2 separate regions of the Homo sapiens genome follow, and region 1 is linked to region 2. Evidence: promoter capture Hi-C in 16 types of primary human blood cells and fetal thymus (Javierre and others, 2016). All regions are on one chromosome and are shown on one strand. Each heading gives the region's core, a stretch centred on a gene start or on the middle of the fragment in contact. The rest is flanking DNA. Distances are from core to core; before and after follow the strand shown. Region 1 overlaps LOC105371269 (a long non-coding RNA gene). Region 2 holds the start of MMP2 (matrix metallopeptidase 2).

Region 1 (5,744 bases), core at 2,542-5,041, 1.9 Mb after region 2:
GTGGTTTCCCAACCCAGTGCCCCCAGGTTTAGGTCTGTGGGGCATGTACAGGGCACCTTCTCCAGGACCCAGCAGCATCTGCACTCCTATCCTCTTCAACTCACCCTCTGCCCTCCTCCTAGCCAGCCCAAGGATGTGAAGACATCCTCTTTCTTTTCTTTTCTCTTCCTTTTCTTTTCTTTCTTTTTTTTTTTTTTTTTTTTTTTTGAGATAGGGTCTCACTCTGTTGCCTCGGCTAGAGCGCACTGGTGTGATCTCAGCTCACTACAACCTCTGCCTCCCGGGTTCAAGCAATTCTCCAGTCTCAGCCTCCCCAGTAACTGGGATTACAGGTGTACGGCACCATGCCCAGTTAATTTTTGTATTTTTAGTAGAGACAGGGTTTCACCATGTTGGCCAGGCTGGTCTTGAACTCCTGACCTCAAGCGATCTGCCTGCCTCGGCCTCCCAAAGTGCTGGAATTATAGGCGTGAGCCACTGCACCAGGCCCGACATCCTCTTTCAAGGCACACAGTCACCTAAAGCTATATGGAGTCACTTTGGCAGCTCCAAGGCCAGGGAAGAGAAGACTTTGTCCATGGTATAAATTCCTTGCTCCCTTCTCTTGTAACAGTGAGCCTCGCAAGAATGCGCTGAGTGAACGGGAAAGACTGCAGTGCAGAAGGACATATGGGGAAACCTTCAAATCGTCATTTCATCACCCAGATGTGCACCCAAGTAATCAGAATCCAAGGCGAATCTAGAATGCCATCAAGTGCCATCACAAAGTCCTTCCATAGGAGAGAGAAAGAAATTCCCACCGGAGGCAAGCAAAGAGGGCTGCTTGAAGGAGGCAGGGGCATGTAACCTGGCCTCGGGAGATGAGTAAAATCTCAGCTGGTGGAGGAGGAATGGGACCCGAGGCATGAAGCATCAGGGTAGCTTGGGTCGGCCTCATCTCCCCAGCCTGGGATTGGGGAAGGCAGAAGGGAGATCTATACCCTAGAACCTCAACCAAGGAGGTTGGACTTCCCCAGAATGAGGGCAGGGAGGAAGCTGTGGAATATTTTGGAGGAAGGAGTGACACGATGAGATGCCGCAGGCCAGTGGGGAGTCATGCAGAGACACATGTAGAAACGGCCTTTGTCTCAAGACTCTGGCTACAGGGCTGTGTGTGTGGAGGAGGGGGGAAGAGAAGAGGGAGGAGACGGGGAAGAAAGAAGTGAGGGAGGTTGGGGTGGTGCAGAAAGAGGAGAGATGGAGCAGGAAGGGGGAGAAAGAACAGATGTGGGGAGACAGTGGAGTTTGCGCCCGCCCAGCTCGCAGAGGCCCCCGTTTGTGGGTGTGAAAACCCATCCTGAACTTCTCTGGCCCAGGAAGTCTGGAGAGCCCCAGGCGCCTTGCTTGTGAGTGGCTTTTGTGAAAAGAAGGCAAGAGAATGGGAGGAAAAGTTGGATTCAGGTCTGATTTTTCTAAACAAAGTCACCAGCTGAGGCAGGACTGACAGCCCCGGGATGCCCTCAAGCAGAGAAATTGTCAGAGAAGAAGGTGAGAGGAGGTGATAATTGCTGGGAGAATGAAAGCTGAAGCCACCCCAGCGAGTCTCTTGGCTTCTCCAAGCCCAGTCAGCGTCAGAGAAAATAGAGGTCTGAGTTTTCTGGTTGTTCACACTCAGAAACTAAAGCCAGAAAAGTTCCAAACATCTGGCTTTTACAGCACAAAACCCCCAACGCACGTGCTGGGATCGTATTTAGTAATGTTATGGCTCCATCTACAGCCGGAGGAAGGATCATCACTGCTAGATTTCGCCGTGAGCAAGAATCCGGCCTTTGAGCTGCGCAGACTCATTGCAATTAACGCTAATAAAGCTCGTTCCTGTATCTGTGCTGTTTATTCAACACAGACTTGGAACCACACTGGAAGTTATTTATTTCAGACTGTGTCTACAACAGCAGCTGTTCAGAATATACTAGCATCCTTTTAGCCAAAATTGGTTTGGAATTTCTATTTTAAACCACTGTTTGTTATGAATTGAGTTAAATGTCTTTTTTTTTTTTAACACATTTTCCCTATTTTAACAATGGAAAAAATAAAAGCCCTTAAAATACTAAGATTGCATTTTCTTTCATTCATTCAACAGCTAATTAGCACCTACTGCGTGTCTGGCTCTGTGTTAAGTGCAATAATTAAGTCAGATCTGAATGCATCCTATTATTTACTCATCAGAGGGTATTTTTGCTACTTGTCCTTTATGTCTGGAACATTTCCACAGGAATAGTGAGAGAGGAAGAACCGAGACAACCTGTGAATATAGTGTTTGGGACAAGTTAGAAACACAAGGAACATAGAATCTTTTCATGACAAAGTGGAAGCTGGAAGTCAGTCCCATAAAGGCCAGTAAGATTTTTATCCTGTTCTATTATTTTTTTCCTACTCAGAAGTGGAATTAGTTTTTTCCTACTTAAAAAGTTACCAGCTGAAGTCAGGTGCGGTAATCCCAGCATTTTCGGGGATCGAGGTGGGCAGATTGCTTGCACCCAGTAGTTCAAGACCTTCCTGGGCAACATCGGGAGAGCCCCATCTCTACAAAAATACAAAAATTAGCCATGTGTGGTGGCGCACACCTGTAGTCCCAACTACTTGGGAGGCTGAGGTGGGCGGATCGCTTGAGCCTGGGAGGTTGAGGCTGCAGTGAGCCAAGATCACACCACTGCACCAACAGCCTGGGTGCAGTGGCTCATGCCTGTAATCCCAACACTTTGGGAGGTTTGGGTGGGAGGATCCCTTTAGCCCAGGAGTTTGAGATCAGCCCAGGCAACATAGTAAGACCCTGTCTCTACCAAAAAATATTTTTAAATAGCTGGGTGTGATGGCACATGCCTGTAGTCCCAGCTATTTGGGAGGCTGAGGCGGAAGGATTGCTTGAGCCCAGGAGTTCAAGATTGTAGTGAGCTATGATCACACCACTGCACTCCAGCCTGGGCAACAGAGCAAGACCCTGTCGCTGAAAATAAATAAATAATATTTGCTTTGTGCAGAAAATTTGGAAAACAAGACAAAAAGGAATTTAAAAATCTCAGTTATAATCCTATCAACCAAAGATGACCACTGTTAACTTTACATGGTACTATAATTTTCATTAACCCATAGGAGAGGAACTTTCTTTCATGTCACTGCATATTCCTCTATATGATTTTGAATGGCTACAGAGTATTCTTTCATATGAGCATACCATAATTTACTTATGCCACACATGATTACTGACTTTTAACAATGATAAGGTTTGTACTGATGACATTTCTTAAGATACACTCTTAGCTCTGGAACTTCTGGATCAAAGAGGGCATGTACCTTCAAGGCCTCTGAGACATATATCAAGTTGCCATCCAGGGTCAACCTCCTAGAATTTAACATCGCATCTGAAACCAAAATCTAACTTCAGGAGCCCAGAGCATTCACAGTTCCAGAAAGAGTGTGATGGTAAGTGGTGATCCTTGGTGTTCGGGAAGCTTTGCAGGGCATCCCAGCTGGAGGTAGTCAAAGTTATCAGAATGGTTTTTGATAAATTCTTTACCTTGTAGATGATTTAGACTGGAGTGCCTCCAGGAAAGCAGGAAGCAAGACATGTTTTTAACCTGGTAAGTATTTAGTCAATAGAGCATTACCAAGGGCTCAGGAGATTAAGAAAGACAGGATTATTTTAATGTATCTTCATCACCCAAACCTCACCACTTGTCATGGTTAATATCACCCCTGGCTTATTTTTCCTGTTCCCACATTCTGTCCACAGTTTGTGCCCACAGATACTTTGCCCTTTCCTCTCCTCCATGTCTTATAAGGTGAAGCTGGGTTCCTCTGAGGTCACAGAGCTGTGGTAACTACATCCAGTGGGTGTTAGAAAAAACCCTGGCCCCTCTCAGATGTGAGATGTGGTCTAAGGACTCAATACACTGACTTAGGGAAGACTTGAGCTTTTTTCTTTGGAACTGAAACATTTTCCATATGTTTATATAGAGTTGTGGCAACAACTCAAGGGATATGAAAAGCAGATTTTACAAGAGTATGATTGCACAGCAAAAGTCAGTTTTGGGTTAATTTTGGAAAGAGAAGCTTTGATTTTACTGTGTGCCTAGTAGACAATGTCCCATCAGTCACACACAAAGGAAGAATGTCGGCAGAGAATCCCATAAAGTTAGCACCTAATGTAACTAGCGTTATTGGAAGTTGAGGCAGAGACAAGGGCTGCCCAAGGTCATGGTCACGGTAAGAGGTGGGTGTAAGCTGCCTTTCTGCCTACTGGCTCAGTGATCATTTTAAAAGAGGGTGACTTAACTACAGAAGTAAAATGTGACTGCCTTAGTTGTTAGAGAGCAAGAAGACACTCAACTGCATAAGGGGAACCAGCAGCAGGGCTCCTACTAGAGGCTGGAGTCTCTTGGGAAGAAACAATTTCCCACCATGTGTTCCCTTGCGTGCTTGGCCATGGTAAGGCAGAACATGGAGGGTGAAATCAGACCTCAATCTTTTCTCTGATTCATCTTTCTGCAGGCAAACACCTCTCAGGAGAAGGAGACAAATTGTTGACTTGAAACCCAGTTTTCCTGCCCTGGCAGTAACTGCGCAGAGTGGGGGAGGGTGGACATAACCCTGGGGCCTCTCTGTTTGTATTGAATGTTCTCATCACCCTGACATCCTTGCAGTTTCCCTTTAATGCACGTGTGTCATGCTGAGAGTGCAAATGACTGTCTTGGGAGTTCTGTTTTTCCTACTTGTCCCCGCCTTCCCTGTGTGTCTGGGGCCCATGGATGTTCAATGGGACAGGGGCTAAAGTGGCCGCCAGGGGACAGAGTTGCTCACCTGCATAGCACCTTCCCTCCACCCTCCATGCACTGATGGATGGAACTTCTCATGGGTTTTTGGTCCACCGCACTCTATTTTTTTTGTTCCAGGGTTAAAAACATGGAGAAAGCTTGAGGCAGGGAGGATCTCCTTACTGCAGATAAAAAACCCAAGGCAGAGGTAATCAATACCTCATTCTTTAATAGCTCACAGTGGGACCCTTGAGCACACCAGACAACACAGCAAAGATCATAATTATGCTGATAGAAGTAACTTACAGGGTCAGATGCCTCCTGTCTGTCCATCTCTTAACCATATGATCTTTTACTTTATGTGGCAATGAAATAAAATATTTTGAGGCTGGCATTTCAGTCGGTCCAAGTTACAAATACAGCTGAGCACTTTTCTAAGCCATTATTTCCCCAGCTGGAAGTGAAAGTTAATAATTTTGCCCCAACTCTCAAACCCCATCACCACTTGCTTCTCAGGGATGCAGTGACAAGACAAGAGATATTTGCAATATTTGCAGTGTTTTCCAGACTTTTCTGATGCCAAGAAGCACCTGGGAAACTTGTCCAAATACAGACTTCCAGCCTAAACCCTGGTCTTACTGAATAAGTAATTGTAGGATGGGCCTGGGCATCTGTAGTTTTATTTATTTATTTTGAGATGGAGTTTCGCTCTTGTTGGCCAGCCTGGAATGCAGTGGCACAATCTCGGCTTGCTGCAACCTCTGCCTCCCAGGTTCAAGTGATTCTCCTGCCTCAGCCTCCCGAGTAGCTGGGATTACAGGCACCCGCCACGACGCCCAGCTAATTTTTTGTATTTTTTAGTAGAGATGGGGTTTCATCATGTTGGCCAGGCTGGTCTCGAACTCCTGACCTCAGGCGATTCACCCGCCTCGGCCTCCCAAAGTACTGGGATTA
Region 2 (5,769 bases), core at 786-3,285:
AAAACTCTTAAATAATCCACCCCTTGTTTAGCATATAATCAAGAAATAACCATATGTATACTCAGTCCAGCAGCCCATTCCCTGCTCTGTCTATGGAATAATCACCCTTTTATTCCTTTACCTTCTTAATAAATTTGTTTTCACTTTACTCTGTTGGCTCGCTCTTGAATTCCTTCCTGTGCAAGCCAAGAACCCATGTGGCCCCCAGGCTGAACCCCAATTTAGGGGTTCATCCTGTGACCCATTGGCTGGAAAAGGTGTAGGAAACCAAGTAGCTTTGTCATTGTCCCAAAGCTCCACTCTCACCCCCACCCAACAGCCACATCATTATGCCAGCCAGCTCCAGATCCTTGAAAAAAGTAGCCCTCTAAAAATGTATGGAGGTTTCCCAACCCATCTATCCAGAGGGGGCTGAGACCTAGCTGTTTGGAAGGGTGAGAGTTGGGAGAGGGTAGTTGTCACCTCCTGAAGGAGTTCCTAGGGTGACCAGAGGGCATGGGCGTCTTCTCCCGGACAGGTTGAGGGGGAGGCTGGAGGGCAGGGTGGCTGAAGCAACAAGGGAGCAGATATCCCCTGGACTGGAAAGGACATCTTGATGGGTCCCTGGCCTGCCTCTCTCCTCAGGCCCTACTTACGCAACACTGCGGCCAGGCTCAGTGCCCCTCCAGCCAGGCGCGCGCACGCTCACAAGACAACATCTGAACCGCGGTTTGGGAGCCCAGCCAGGAAGGAGGGCTCTCTGGCCGCTCTCCGACCCGAGCGGAGCGCAGTCCGCCCCCGCCCCACGCGCCGGGCCCTCCAGCGCCTGCCCCACTCCTCCTCCCTCCTGCCGGGCCAGCTCTCTCCTTCTTTTCTCCGACCCTTTGGAGAAGTTCGAGGAAACTTTCCGAGGCCCAGCCCTTGACCAATTTGTCCATTAAGCCAGGAGAAAAAAGATGCGCTCTCTGCTTCCCTCCTGCCCCAATCACTTCCCAAATGGCCCCCTCGAGCTGTTTGTTTAAAGGTCCCTCTCCGGATCTGTGCCGAAGGTTCCTAGAAATTTGCCAAGCCCCGCTTTGACCAAGCTCCCTCCCATCCTTATGCGCGCATAAGTTTACCCAAATTGTGTGCCAGAGCACCGTTCCCAAAGTCCTACATTAGCAAAAACGACCCCTGTAGCTGTTTGCCAAAGGCTTACCTAGACGCTTGGCAAGAGCCCTTAGCAACTGCCCAGATGTGTCCAAAAGTTGTTTACAAAGACCGCCCCCCCCCCCCGCCAAATGTCCCAGATACTAGAGGATGTCCCCGCTATTTACATAAGAGTCCCTTTCCAGTAGTTTGCCAGGTCACCCCTCTCCCACTCTCTGGCTTGTTTTTCGCCCCACTGCTGTATGCTGAAGGTTGCCAAATTGTTTATCAAAGGTTTTCTTTGCTTACAAAAGATCCCCCACCGTTTGCAAGAGATCACTCCAATAGCTTGCCAAAGACCCCCCAAGCTGTTTACCGAAGCCCCTCCCCCACGCTGTGTGCCCACCGCCGAGGGCAGGGGGAGAGACACCCCCATCCTTTGCCTCCGAAGTTTGTCTAAACGTGGTTCCTTGAGGCCAGCGCAGCAACTCACCACTGCCAACTCTTTGTCCGTTTTGGGGGCGACATCGCCGGGGAACTTGATGATGGGCGACGGCGCGGCGGCGGCGTGGCTCAGCAGGCAGCCCAGGAGACAGAGCGCCCTCAGGGGACCCGTGAGCGCGCCCCGGGCCATTAGCGCCTCCATCGTAGCGCTCCCTGGCCCCGCGCGTCGCCCGGGGGTCGCTGGCTCGGTGCGTGTGGCCGCCTCGCCGCCTGGTTGGAGCCTGCTCCGCGGCGCAGGGCTGCGCTCCGAGGGTCCGCTGGCTCGGTGGCCTGGGGTTTGCCCGGCTCAGCGGCTCATGGTCCGGCCCCCGCGCCCCAGCCCCCGCCGCCGCCGCCGCCGCCGCAGGTCCTGGCAATCCCTTTGTATGTTTAAAGCCCCAGATGCGCAGCCTCCAGCCACCGCCTGAGGAAGTCTGGATGCAGCGGAAACAAGGGAGGGCAGCCGCCAGATGTAGCCGGCTGGGCTGGGAGGGAGCTGGCAGAGCGGGGCTGGGGGCGGGGGGCGCACTCGGGCCCGCCCCTCTCTGCCCCACCCCCCTACTCGCCCTCCTCCACTTTTCTCCTCTTTTTTCCTTTCTCCACCTCTTTTCCCCGGCCGCCTGCTACTCCTGGCCTCTACGTCCACCCTCAGTGCACGACCTCGTCACCCCACTTGCCTCTCTCGCGATCTGGGCGCACAGCCTCAGAACCCCCTGCTGGGAAACATCTGTCGCTCTAGGCCCTTGACGTCCTGAGGTTAGAGAGCAGCGGTACTACTAGGAGGGACGCCGGCTTGGCTAGGACACCCTGCACTCCCTGGGGTCAGGAACGGGAAGGAATGGTCAGAAACAGATGATCAGCCACAATGATAGATGGTCAGAGACAGAAATTTTCGATATTTAGGGATAGGGACAGAGAGATTCTGGGATGAACAGAGATGGAAAGAGAGAGATGGAAACAGAGACAGTGGAAGGTCCCAGGTTGCTTCCTTACCTCTTTCCTTCTGCAAATGTGTAAGCCTTAACTTGGCCTCGTATAGTGCGAGATGCTAGATACACCTTGGGAAATAGAGCAGTCAGGGGCCCCGCGTTAGAGACGTTGGAACCAGAGCGACTCCATCTTGAACAGGGGGCTGGGTAAAATGAGGCTGAGACCTGCTGGGCTGCACTCCCAGGAGGGTCCGCATTCTCGGTCACAGGATGAGATAGAAATTGGGCAAGACTGGTTTAATAAGATAGAGGTCACAAAGACCCCACTGATAAAACAGTATGCAGTGAAGAAGCCAGCCAAAACCAAGATGGCAAAGAAAGCGACCTCTGGTCATCCTCACTGCTCATTTTACGCTAATTATAATGCATTAGCATGTTAAAGGAAGCACCCACCAGTGCCATGGCAGTTTATAAATGCCATGGCAATGTGGGGAGGTTTACCCTATATGGTCTAAAAAGGGGAGGAGCCCTCAGTTCCACGAATTCCCCACTCACTCTTGAATCCTTTCCTGCGCCAAGCCAAGAATCCATGTGGCCTCTCAGGTCGAATCCCAATTTTGAAGTTCTCCCTGTGACAACCGTCTCTGAGGAATGTCTTCTCCCTCTCTCAGGAAAGACAGTTGAGAGATAAGCTGTGATGGGGAACTCCAGCAGGCTGTTGGGAACGCCTGACTTCAGCCCCTAAACTAGTAAAGACAATCAAGGAAGGCTTCCTGGAAGAAGTGACTTCTGAGCTGAGACCTGAAGAGCTAAAGAGGTGGAGTGCTGGGTGGGGAATATGGGGAATGTTTTAGGGAACATTGACAATGGCCCAGAGATGAAAAACAGCAAGAGGCACTGGAGAAGAAAGTTTTTTCTATCTGAAAAAGGTGGGGCACAGGGTGAGGGGATGGAGCTGGAGGGGTCAGTAAGGACCAGCCTAGGAAGGGGGCAGATAGGACTGGGGGTCAGCAGGGAACAGTTTGAGAAGTAAGGTCAGGGGCTGAAAGAATCAGGAGCAATATACTTGTGGGGGGCATTGGAGGTCACGATTATGTCTTGATCATCACAGCTAGAAAAGTCTCTGCGGCTTGGGTCTCAGTGGGCTTCAGACAAGTTCAGGCTTGTCTGGTGGGTGTGTGCTCTGACTTTCCAGAGTCAGTTTTAAAGGACCCTCTTGGGAGGGACCTTGCCCCGCAGGAGGGAGCCAGGCCCTTCAGCCTGACCCAGTGACAAACCTTGGCTGTTTTGGAGAGGGCGAGACTGAGGTCAGTTGGGAAGGGGGATTGCCTCCTGGCCCAGCCCCACTGGGCTCATGTCCACGTCCTGTGGATAGCCAGAGAGCCAAGTTGGAGAGCTGAGAGCTGAGAGTGAAAATGGAAAAAGTTATCTCACTAAAGCAGGGGCTGCAAACTCGTGGCCTGTGGGCTAAATCCAGCCTGAACAGCATTTTGAAATTTGGGAAACTTCATGTAAAAATCTGACTTTCTGGTTTTCTTTTTTTAAAAAAATTTCCCAAAAATCTGGCAATACTGGATGCCAGTTTCCATATGGCAATAATTTGCTGAAGTTGAGTAGTGACTGCTCCCTTTAGATGAGGCACATACTTTGGTTTGCCACAGTCCTCACCACTCTCTATTGTATTGCCTTGTATGTGACTCCCTTCACTAGGTGTTGTTCATTTACACTTGCCCAATTTGAGTTTTAACCTTTTCAGAAAGTCTCTGGAGTCTGCATAACATGCTTTGGAGCTCCTCTGGCAGAGGGCAGCTTTGACTGTACCTCTTCACAGCCTCTGTGGTTTTGGCATTCCAAGGGTATCGGTTTCCAGTGTGGGGCTTGGTGCCCATTCAGAGATGGCAATGGCTGCAGAAGCAGCACTCAGTGAGAGAGAGGCTTCTGTGCCCAGCAATGACTATGTCAGAGGCATTGGAACCAGAGCAACTCCATCTTGAATAGGGGTTAGACTAAGACCTGCTGGCCTGCATTACCAGTAAATTAAGGCAATCCTAATCACGAAATGAGATAGGAGGCTGGCACAAGATACAGGTCATAAAGACCTTGCTGATAAAACAGGTTGCAGTAAAGAAGCTGGCCAAGACCCACCAAAACCAAGATGATGATGAGAAAAACCTCTGGTCAGCCTTACTGCCACACTCCCACCAGCGCCACGACTGTTTACATATGCCATGGCAACGTCAGGAAGTTATCCTATACGGCCTAAAAGGCAGAAGCATGAATAATTTACCCCTTGTTTAGCATATAATCAAGAAATAACCATAAAAATGGGCAACCAGCAGCTTTTGGGGCTGATCTGCCGATGAAATAGCCATTCTTTTATTCCCTTACTTTCTTAATAAACTTGCTTTCACTTTATGGACTTGCCTCAAATTCCTTCTTGTGTGAGATCCAAGAACCCTCACTTGGGGCCTAGAATGGCCCAGGGGACGAGGAGAGAACAGGCAGTATCTGATGATAATGGGCTTGTTGGTGAGCACATGCAATATGCTCCAGGGCCCCTGTGCACTCCTGTATATCTCTCTTCCCCTGCCACGGTAACCCTGGGAGCCCTGTGTTGATCTAGCAAAGTCGTAAAATGAAAGCAACCAGACCCACTACAGACTTCGTAAGTGAAAAACAAACTCTTAGGCAACGAACCATGGAGCTTTTGGGATATGTTTGTTACTGCAGCATCTTTTAGTCATTCTTAATATAGATGCAAAAATGCTGTTTAGTGGATATAATTGTGTTGCCAAAAAGATATGTTCAAGTCCCAATGCCTGTGACTGTGCCCTCACATGGAAATAGGGTCTTTGCAGATACAATCAAGTTAAGATGAGTGGGCTCTAATCCAAAGCCTGTTGTCATGATAAGAAGACAAAACTTTGGACACAGAGACACACAGCAAGAAGAACTCCATGTGACCATGGAGGCAGAAATTGGAGCAATGCCTGCAACCCAAGGAGTTGCCTGCAACCCAGAAGCTAGAAGAGACAAGAAGGAATTCTTCCCCCAGAGGCTTCAGAGGGAGCGTGGCCCTGCTGACATGTTGGTTTTGGACTTCTAGTCTCAGAGCTCTGAGAGAATAAATTTCTGTTGTAAGCCACCCAGTCTGTAGTGCTTTTTTACAGCAGCCCCAGAAAACTACGCAGGCTGTGATTAGAAGACGTCGCGATATGACATGAATTCTGTCATTTATTCGGGAAGTTTT

Evidence for each region. Contacts are between HindIII fragments. The CHiCAGO score rates a contact against its expected background, and 5 or more counts as called.
Region 1: a fragment that was not itself captured here is called in contact with the fragment with the promoter of MMP2 in region 2 in 1 of 17 cell types (total CD4 T cells); the score reaches 7.1 in total CD4 T cells.

Annotation. Positions count from the first base shown.
Region 1 is chr16:53,546,139-53,551,882 of GRCh38, reverse strand. LOC105371269 (a long non-coding RNA gene) reads left to right here. Exons shown (of 8, transcript XR_933588.4): 4 at 3,286-3,459; 5 at 3,561-3,617; 6 at 4,929-4,998. Among named protein-coding and RNA genes, the nearest start is that of AKTIP, 46 kb to the right of the region's middle. RefSeq lists a silencer at 4,730-4,909 and an enhancer at 4,467-4,968. The HindIII fragment of the contact is 601 bases long and covers 3,491-4,091 here.
Region 2 is chr16:55,475,464-55,481,232 of GRCh38, reverse strand. MMP2 (matrix metallopeptidase 2) reads right to left here and starts at 2,035. Exons shown (of 13, transcript NM_004530.6): 1 at 1,601-2,035. The coding sequence starts at 1,753. The HindIII fragment of the contact is 12,132 bases long and covers 1-5,769 here.